3 separate regions of the Homo sapiens genome follow, and regions 1 and 3 are each linked to region 2. The links are contacts of gene promoters, found by promoter capture Hi-C in blood cells and fetal thymus (Javierre and others, 2016). All regions are on one chromosome and are shown on one strand. The core of a region is centred on a gene start or on the middle of the fragment in contact, and the rest is flanking DNA. Distances in the headings are between cores, read along the strand shown.

What was found. The method cuts DNA at HindIII sites, captures the fragments that hold promoters and counts their contacts. A CHiCAGO score of 5 or more calls a contact.
Region 1: a contact is called between a fragment that was not itself captured here and the fragment with the promoter of TMEM174 in region 2, in 1 of 17 cell types (endothelial precursors). The highest score is 5.0, in endothelial precursors.
Region 3: a fragment that was not itself captured here is called in contact with the fragment with the promoter of TMEM174 in region 2 in 3 of 17 cell types (erythroblasts, megakaryocytes and endothelial precursors); the score reaches 6.1 in erythroblasts.

The regions. Positions count from the first base shown.
Region 1 is chr5:73,422,254-73,425,393 of GRCh38, forward strand. No RefSeq gene overlaps it. Among named protein-coding and RNA genes, the nearest start is that of FOXD1, 25 kb to the right of the region's middle. The HindIII fragment of the contact is 2,637 bases long and covers 393-3,029 here.
Region 2 is chr5:73,171,165-73,174,452 of GRCh38, forward strand. It overlaps TMEM174 (transmembrane protein 174), which reads left to right and starts at 2,029. Exons shown (of 2, transcript NM_153217.3): 1 at 2,029-2,705; 2 at 2,896-3,288. The coding sequence starts at 2,080. The coding sequence ends at 3,001. The HindIII fragment of the contact is 4,462 bases long and covers 1-3,288 here.
Region 3 is chr5:72,915,605-72,919,044 of GRCh38, forward strand. No RefSeq gene overlaps it. Among named protein-coding and RNA genes, the nearest start is that of FCHO2-DT, 39 kb to the right of the region's middle. The HindIII fragment of the contact is 1,599 bases long and covers 836-2,434 here.

The sequences.
Region 1 (3,140 bases), core at 461-2,960, 250 kb after region 2:
TGCTGACAAATTTGGCTCCTGGTGAGGGCTCTAGTCTCCTTGCTTGCTGACAGCCACCTGCTTGCTGTGTCTTCATAATGCAGGGAGAGGGAGCTCTAATCTCTTCCTCTTCTTGTAAGGATACTAATCCTATCATGGGGGGCCCACTGTCATGACCTCATCTAAACCTAATTACTTCCCAAAGGCCCCACTTCCAAATATCATGACATTGGAGGTTAGGACTTCAATACATGAGTTTGGAGTTGGGGGCACAAACGTTCAGTCTGTAACAGAGAGGCACTGCTGTGTCAGTGCAGTGCAGCTGGTGGATGGAACACGGGATGGCAATTTCCACCCCACCTTCAAGGCCCAGACCAGACCAAGGCCCTGCAAAGAGACCACCTACTCTTTGAAGCTTTCTCTGTCTTCCTTTTTACAGTCCCTTATTCCCCTTAAAAAAAAATTTTAGAGCACTTACTTTGACCATCTTTGTTTAGTAGCATAAGTTACTTTTAAATAATGTATATATGGATTTACATATATACAATTTATATAATATATACATGGATTAATATATATTCCATGGCCTTGACTAGAATGTCATATCAGTAACAGTGATAATGTGATGATGATCATGATAATGACAGCAGCTAACACTGATTTAGCCTGTATCATCTGCCAGTGCTTTGCATGCATTATATTGCATACTTTTCACGATAAACCTATGAGGTAGATATTATTATTGCCCATTTTACAAATGAGAACACTGTGGCTTAGGGAAGTTAAATAGTTTATCCACCAGGTTATTATGTGGCAGGGGTGGTCTCCAATCATTGGCATATGTATTCCCAAGCCTGTGATCTTAACCATGCACCATACGTAGGCCCCTCTTCATGCATACAGTGTCCCCCAGTGTCTATGAGGGATGACTCTAAATGTTAATTTCCATGCCCCTGGGACCACAGTTCTCTTAACAGAAGAATAAGATTTTGAGTATCAACACTTTCCTTACTGGGTAGAATTATATTTCCATTCTCAACAATGAATTAATTATTGCCTCCCTGTTTCTTTTAAACTAAGGCCTCTTTCCATCACCTGTGACTGGATTCTGTTGTGTGCCTTCCCTGAGCCTGTGTCATTTCATTTGCTACAATGGGAGTGATTGATGGTTCTAATTCTTATTTATTTAATTTTTTAATATATTAGGCACCAGACTGGGAAAATTTACTCACCCCATTTGTCATTCTAAAAAATCTAAGACTAATGAGATATAGAAAAAAAAAAAACTTAAATGGAACAGAGTTTCCCAGGGTCCCCAGTAGGTAGGTGGAGTCATGGCAAGAAATGAACCCAGGGCTTACTGAAGAACTCCAGTGGAAGACAGTGCAGAAACCCGGGTAAAAGGCCAAATGGGCCAGAGTCAGCCTCCTACTATGACAATCTTTGGTGTAAGGAAGTAGATATCCTTCATTCAGAACAAAGAGAACAGGACAGGGATTTGGTTAGCTCATGGGTCTTATGCTTATAAAAATGGAACTGGCAATAGTGGTTCCTCTCTTCTAATTAAATATGCTGCCAAGTTGAGGGACAAATTTGAATTTGGTCAAGTACCTTGAGTACCTCTGAGGAGAGCACCACAGAAAAGGTCTTTTTTTTTTTTCTTTTTTGGAACAGAGTCTCACTGTGTCACCCAGGCTAGAGTCCAATGGCACTATCTCGGCTCACTGCAACCTCTACCTCCCAGGTTCAAGGAATTCTTCTGCCTCAGACTCCTGAGTAGCTGGGACTACAGGCGGGCACCACCACGCCTGGCTAATTTTTGTATTTTTAGTACAGAAGGGGTTTCACCATGTTGGCCAGGCTGGTCTCTAACTCCTAACCTCAGGTGATCTACCCTCCTCAGCCTCCCAAATCCTCCCAAAGGGATTACAGGTGTGAGCCACCGTGCCTGGCCAGAAAACCTCTTTTCTAAAATGACATTGCCTCACTCACTTGCCAGAAAGTGTTTCTTCCCAAATAATGTCACTGATGAACTGAAGAACTTTCAAAGTATGATGGATCCATGTCATTTAGGTAAGCCATTTGTCTGGGGTGCCAAAACAGAATCAATTCTCCACAATTCCTTAAACAACAGGTATCCTTATATGGGCCAGATTTGCCTGAAAAGAACAGAATGACATTGCCCAGTGAATCCCCCAGGCTTCACATTCCAAAAGTGTCCCATTAAATGAATCCAAGCAGTTGCTTCTGAAATCATAAATTCCAAAAGACAATGAAAGTTGCAATCACAAGGGGTAACAGAAGCCAAACACATTAGGAACATGTTCCTTGTGCAAATAGCATAATCCCGGACACGCGGGAACACATGGTTTGCCTCAGACATGTTTCATTTTGTCATCGCATTGAGTGTACAGTATTTCTCTTTGGGTGCAAGAGTGATTGATTTCCTTGGGAGAATTGTTTGTAAGAACATGAAAGTTGCCAAAGCAAACACGTTGGAGGGAAGTGTGGAGAAGGGGAGTAAGAATATTTGGAGTAGATCTGGGTTTGGGAAGTTCATGCAGAGGTGAGACAGTGAGATGTAGAACAAATAAAAACATTCTGCACACTTCATCTACATAAATTATGTTCTGAAATTCACTCTGTGTAGACATTAGCAGTGCAGCTACAACTCTCCCTAGTGTGCCTCCAGAATGTGGGCACAAAGCCAATTTTTAAGTGAATGATTTGTAACTTTTCCTCCAAATAAATTAATCTACTAATATTTAGATCATCCTGATTTTAATCCACAAAAGTCATGTAGTCATTGTAAAAAATATCCAATAATCTATTTGTCTTTTATGATAGAATTATAGTACTGATTTGTATTAATAGATCTGTCGAGATATGTTGACAAAATGGAAAACATTACACATATTTCCTTTGATCTCTTTCTCTACCATAAAAAACCTACCTAAATAAATACAGCGGCATTTATAACATGTGAATTTGAAATGATCCTTTTGGTTATTTACTTTAAATTTTAAATTATGTTAAAGATGAGCATTTTAAGCTTCTATCTACCTATATGAACTTGCTTCTTAAGCGATGTAAATTTATTATAAAATACTCATGACACTTAGATGCTTAAGTGTGTGGTTACAAGGCAGAGTAACAAATGG
Region 2 (3,288 bases), core at 779-3,278:
CTTTTGGAAGAAGCAGCTGAGTCAAACGGACCTTGAAAATGTAATTGGAGAACTTTCTGATCTTTCTGCTCTGAAAGCAGTTCCAGTTTGCATTCATGAGCTGTCTAAAGGAGGGTGATCTGTTTCCTCTACTCTCTCAGGCTTCCCAGTTATTCTTAGTGGATATAGCTAAAGGCAAATGGAAAACATAAATTGAGTGATTTAGAAGACAGTTTTGAGATCCTAGCTTTTTTCTAAATGTCAGGGATTGTTTTGACTGTTAACTTAGGAGTTAAGAACCTGAAAATAATGGCAGGCTAACTTACCAGAAATTTATAGTTAAAGAGAAAATCTGGCTTTCCTGGATCTCTGATCTAGCTCAGTGGGAAAAAGGGCAGCCTGTTCCTATAGCAACTCCACTCCAGCCTTGCTGCTCCAAGGCACATCCAGGAAGATACCTCAGGGGTCACCTGCTTGCTTTTCCATCTGTTTGGCAGTGAAGTAGGAGATTACAAGCCTTGTCCTGTAGCAGGGAGAGGCATTTTCATGGGGAAAAATGTCCTTTGGTCTCCTAGAAGCATTTAAGGTTAACCTGGGGTTGGGTTTCCTAAGATTTCTTGATGATGAATCACCTGAGGTCCTTCCCTTGGATATTTGGTTCTGTTGGTCTGAAATGGGAGCTCACATTTTGTCCTTTAAAAAAGTGGCCCATGTGATTTCTTTGTCAAGGGAAGTTTAGGAAGCCCTGCCTTAGGGCAAGACGGCAGCCCTCTCAATTCTGCAAAAGGAGCTAATATAATATTTAATTACTGCAGAGAGCATCGGCTTGAATAAAATCTGTCTAGGAAGGAAAGAAGGCTACAGTTATTAATCAGTGGAGGAAGAAACTCATGGGGCTGTTTGGAAGTTTTGCAGTCATGAATGACAGATAATGTTATTGAAAATTAAACTGTCTTCTCTACATCAACTTGGGTTTGGTTGTAAAACATAGTAGGTTCCAAAACACAGCTGGTTGTTTCACCTTGAAGACCAGGAACTGTGTGGCCACCATGGAGGGAGGGTCCGAAGCATGTGTCCTAGTGAGCCAGGTCATATCTGATGCTTATTCAACCACTGGCAGTGATGCAGTGCATAAAAAGGTTTCCTATGACGTTGTTCCTCTCCCAAAGCTGGAATTACTCCCCAAACGCAGAAAGCAAAAGGCATGTGGGGCTGGCCAGAAAAGAACAGGATCTCAGGGCTTTGTGAGAACTGTTATTAAAGTTTAAGTATCATCACAGCTAGGGGTTCTTGAAGTAGATAGGAATACACACGCAGTCAAGAAATAGGTGTCTGTCTATTCCTAATGAACTGAACCACTAGGTAAATCAGGTTAGACTCCTGTGCATGTGTGGATATATCAAGGGCCCCATTCACTGCTGGAGACCCTTGAGGGAGCTCTGCCATTTCTACAAAGTTGGGTAGGACAAAAACAGGGTCTTATGGCAGCGTCTTAAATTGCTATAGAAGAGTACCTCCTGGGGCCAAGGCAGGAGGAGCACTTGAGTCCAGGAGTTTTGAGACCAGCCTGGTCAACATAATGAGACCCTATCTCTACAAAAAATTTTAAAAATTGGCTGAGCATTGTGATGTGTGCCTGTAGTCCTGGCTACTGGAGAGGATGAGGTGGGAGGATCGCTTGACCCAGGAGGTTGAGGCTGCAGTGAGCTATCATTGTGCCACTGCATTCCAGCTGGGTGACAGAGTGAGACCCACACCCTAAAAAAACAAAACAAAACAAAAAAAAGAAAAGAAAAGAAAAAGAAAGAGAAAGATGGGCTCAATAAGTTAATTTTTGAATGTGTGAATGAATGAATGTGAATTAGAGAGACAGCTTGTCATTGACTTGCAAAACAGAGACCTCCACTTGTTGACAATACATGAGAAAACTTCAGGCTTCATTTCTCAGACCTTTATTCTTCTAAACAAGGTCCAGCCCTCTGTGTGTTACACCCTGTTAAGCACAAGCCCTAAGTTCTTCTATAACTAATTTGGACCTGTGATTCCTTGGTTCTCACAATCCTCTCCACTCTAAGAAGCAGGGTGAGCCCACAAGGAGCAATGGAGCAGGGCAGCGGCCGCTTGGAGGACTTCCCTGTCAATGTGTTCTCCGTCACTCCTTACACACCCAGCACCGCTGACATCCAGGTGTCCGATGATGACAAGGCGGGGGCCACCTTGCTCTTCTCAGGCATCTTTCTGGGACTGGTGGGGATCACATTCACTGTCATGGGCTGGATCAAATACCAAGGTGTCTCCCACTTTGAATGGACCCAGCTCCTTGGGCCCGTCCTGCTGTCAGTTGGGGTGACATTCATCCTGATTGCTGTGTGCAAGTTCAAAATGCTCTCCTGCCAGTTGTGCAAAGAAAGTGAGGAAAGGGTCCCGGACTCGGAACAGACACCAGGAGGACCATCATTTGTTTTCACTGGCATCAACCAACCCATCACCTTCCATGGGGCCACTGTGGTGCAGTACATCCCTCCTCCTTATGGTTCTCCAGAGCCTATGGGGATAAATACCAGCTACCTGCAGTCTGTGGTGAGCCCCTGCGGCCTCATAACCTCTGGAGGGGCAGCAGCCGCCATGTCAAGTCCTCCTCAATACTACACCATCTACCCTCAAGATAACTCTGCATTTGTGGTTGATGAGGGCTGCCTTTCTTTCACGGACGGTGGAAATCACAGGTATGGCGTGTCTACTGGGGGAATGCACTCCTTCTAGCCATCTCCGTCATGATCTGTGGCTGTTTGGTCCATGAATAAGGTGTTGGGAGACTGTGAATCTCTTCTTAGCCTGTTGCCCACGATGGCAGCCTTGGTTCTGTGAATGGTGCTTTGGACCATAATGTACCTGTGTTTTCTGCTCACATTTCAGGCCCAATCCTGATGTTGACCAGCTAGAAGAGACACAGCTGGAAGAGGAGGCCTGTGCCTGCTTCTCTCCTCCCCCTTATGAAGAAATATACTCTCTCCCTCGCTAGAGGCTATTCTGATATAATAACACAATGCTCAGCTCAGGGAGCAAGTGTTTCCGTCATTGTTACCTGACAACCGTGGTGTTCTATGTTGTAACCTTCAGAAGTTACAGCAGCGCCCAGGCAGCCTGACAGAGATCATTCAAGGGGGGAAAGGGGAAGTGGGAGGTGCAATTTCTCAGATTGGTAAAAATTAGGCTGGGCTGGGGAAATTCTCCTCCGGAACAGTTTCAAATTCCCTCGGGTAAGAAATCTCCTGTATAAGGTTCAGGAGCAGGAATTTCACTTTTTCA
Region 3 (3,440 bases), core at 385-2,884, 260 kb before region 2:
TATGCAAATGATCTTTTTCTTCTCAGTTCAGGTGATGAAACCATCGTAATGATAAATGAGTAAGGCTGGCTTAACAATTCTTGGACTGGCGGGCATTCTTGTAATGAGTTCATAATCAGTATGACTCCACAATTTCACGTGATTCTTTAAGAATGATTGGAAAAGTGGCAGCAGGAACTACAGAGCTAACTTGAATTTCCTTTGTGTTCTATACAGTTGAATATGGAATTACCAAAGCTCTGTCATTTTAAAAATTCTTTATTTCTGAGTTGTTAATTTGATGTAAAAGTGTAAGAACCCCCGAAACATCTCCATTATTCAGATAGACACAAATAATGTACACATCACAATTAGTATATATTTTTTTTAATTGAGAGGACTCTGGCTCTGTCTCCCAGTCTTCAGTGGCACGATATCTGCTCCCTGCAACTTCCGCCTCCTAGGTTCAAGCAATTCTCCCATCTCAGCCTCCCAAGTAGCTGGGATTACAGGCGCACGCCACCAGGCCTGGCTAATTTTTTTTTTTTTTTTTTTTTTTTTTTTTTTTTAGGAGAGAGTTTGGCCGTGTTGGCCAGGCTGGTCTCGAACTCCTGACCTCGAGTGAACACCTCGAGTGGTACGCCCACCTTTGCCTCCCAAATTGCTGGGATTACAGTTGTGAGCCACCGCCCCTGGCGACAATTTGTAAATTTAACGCAATTTCTAAACCATTGGCAAGAACAATACAGAGAAGAGTTGTTATACTGAGACCCTTTAGGTTTTTGTACCAGTCAATTCTTACATGCATGTTATGGCAGTCTCACTCTGATGATTTAAATCTTAAGTATTCTTTTCAAGCTTTGTGTTACTTCTTGAAGAACTTGAAACAATTTTAAGAAAGACAAGTGAACAGTTAAATGAATTGTAATACAACTACCTAGTGATAACTGCTGTTAATATCCTGTGCACATATATAAATATATGGTGAATTTGTGTTTTTAGTTATATCCAGAATTGTTTGTTAATATACATGGACATACCTACATATTATTCTATAAGCAATTTATGCAACTGTCTTACTGTTGTTGGACATTCAGAAGTTTTTTCTAATTTTTCACTCTTAGAAATAAAGTTTTAGTGAGAGTCGCAATGCTTAAATGTTTGCAAACATCTGTAGCGATTTCTTAGTGAAACTAGCAGGTCAAAGGTAGTTGGTCTAGTCAGATTACCTTTCAGTTAAATTGTACTCATTTTCATATCCAGCACCAACTCCAGTGGATTCTGTCATGTGTGCTGTAAGTTGTGATTTAATAGCATGATTTTCTAACTTTAGGAAATTTTATATACAAAATCTAGGTTTTTATATTACATATTTAACAGTTATTTGAGTCTTATATTGCAGGCAGTGTTCCGTGATCTCATGGAGCTTAACATTCTCTTTTAGGAAGACAGTAGTGTGTTAATGGTGGCAAGTGCCCATAAGGAAAGAAGGAGATGGAAGGTGATGATAGAGTGGGGGAGGTTGCTTTTTCAAATGGAGTAAGCAGGTAGGTCTGAGAGGGTGTTGTCATATGAGCAAAAAGCTGAAGAAATGATGGATGTCTGAGGAAGAATACTTCAGGTAAAGGGAACAATAAGGACAGATGTCCCAAGAACCATAATGCGTTTGTGTAAAACAAATGAGAGGGTTCTAATTTGAGCACCCAGAGTAAGGGAGAAGAGTAGATTAGATCTAAGAGATAACTGGAAGGCCAGATGGTATAGTTGTTATATCTGAATGAAGTAAAGGGTCATTGTAGGGTTTTGGGTTAGAAAAGTGATGTAATTGAGAATAGACTATAGCACAAGAGTCGAAGCAAGTAGACCCTTTTGGGGATGCTACTATGAACAGGGAAGAGTTATCAGTGGCTTGAATCAGGGTGGTAGTGGGGAAGGTGAAAAGTGGCTGGATATCTGGATATGTTTTAAGGAGGAATCAACATTTGTCAACATACTGAATTTGGGTTGTGGAGAGAAGAATCACAGATGGCTCTTAAGACTTTTGGTCTGACTTGAGCAGCTGGAAGGGTGCAGTTTACCTTAACCAGAGTAGGGAAGATCTGGCATTTGGTTGGAGACATCCATGAGAAGTAGAGTAGGCAGTTGGAGTTCAGGGAGATAACCTGGCTGAAGATGGAAAGCTGGAAGTTGGTGTATAAATACTGTTTCAAATCATTGGACAAGAACATCATCTGAGGACTGGAACAATTAAAGATGGTAGGGACTAACCCTGTAGCACTCAACATTAAAGTCTGAGAGCTGACTAAAAATCAAAGGAGCGTAGTATTGTGATGTATATTGTCTGCAGTGAGAATTACATTTATAGCATGAAGGTCATTATTTTGGCAGATTTCTGTATGGCTATGGGAGACGTAGAATGAGGGCCATCTCCTTCCTCTCTTCTAGGGTTCTACAAAGCTTGGGCTTCTGTTTTCCTCAAGGCCAAGTTCAGTGGCTTTGTTTCTTTAAAACTGAGTTGTTCAAAAAATTTGGAAGCTTATGAAGAGTGAATAAACAGGCCAAAGTGGCCAGATTACAACCCTGAATATTACCAGCTTGTAGTGTCTACATTCAAAATAAAACACCATCCCCAAAAAAAGATGAGCAACAAGTTTTTGTAATTAGATGAGATTATTTTAGAGTTCATATGAAAAAGTAAGATAAGGCAGAAAAATTGTTAAAACAATAATTAGTGTGGGACAATGCCAGTTTGACATTCTTTTAAATTGTGGCTTCAGGAATTAAAACTGATGCATGAATAGGCAGCTTAGAAGAACTAAGTTTAGATCTAAACATCTAAATACACTAGTATATTTGGAAACTATTTTATGGCACTTCAAAGTATAATTTTTAAAAGGCCAGGTGTGGTGGCTCATGCCTATAATCTCAGCACCTTGGGAGGCCAAGGCAGGTGGATCTTGAGCTCAGGAGTTCGAGACTAGCCTGAGCAACATGGTGAAACCCAATCTCTACAAAAAGTACAAAAATTACCTGGGCGTTGTGGCACTTTGGTTGGACAAGTTGGGAGGACTGCTTAAGCCCAGGAGTTCAAGACCAGCCTGGGCAACTTAGGGAGATGCCCATCTCTACAAAAAATAAAATTAGCCGAGCATAGTATCGCACACTTGGGGTCCTAGCTACTTTTGGGAGGCTGGTTCGCGAGGATCACTTGAGCCTAGGAGTTGAAGATTGCACTGAGCTATGATCATGCCACTGCACTCCAGACTGGGCAGCAGAATGATACCCTGTCTCAAAAACAACAGCAACAAAAGTCTGCATGACAGTAAAGCTTGGGAAAAACTTGACAGACTCCTTTCACAGAAAATGGTAATGTTCTAATCTATAAAGCACTACAAGTCAGGATGGCCCAATAGAAAAGTAGGCAATGGGTATGTATAGTTCATTAGTTTGAATTTAAGATT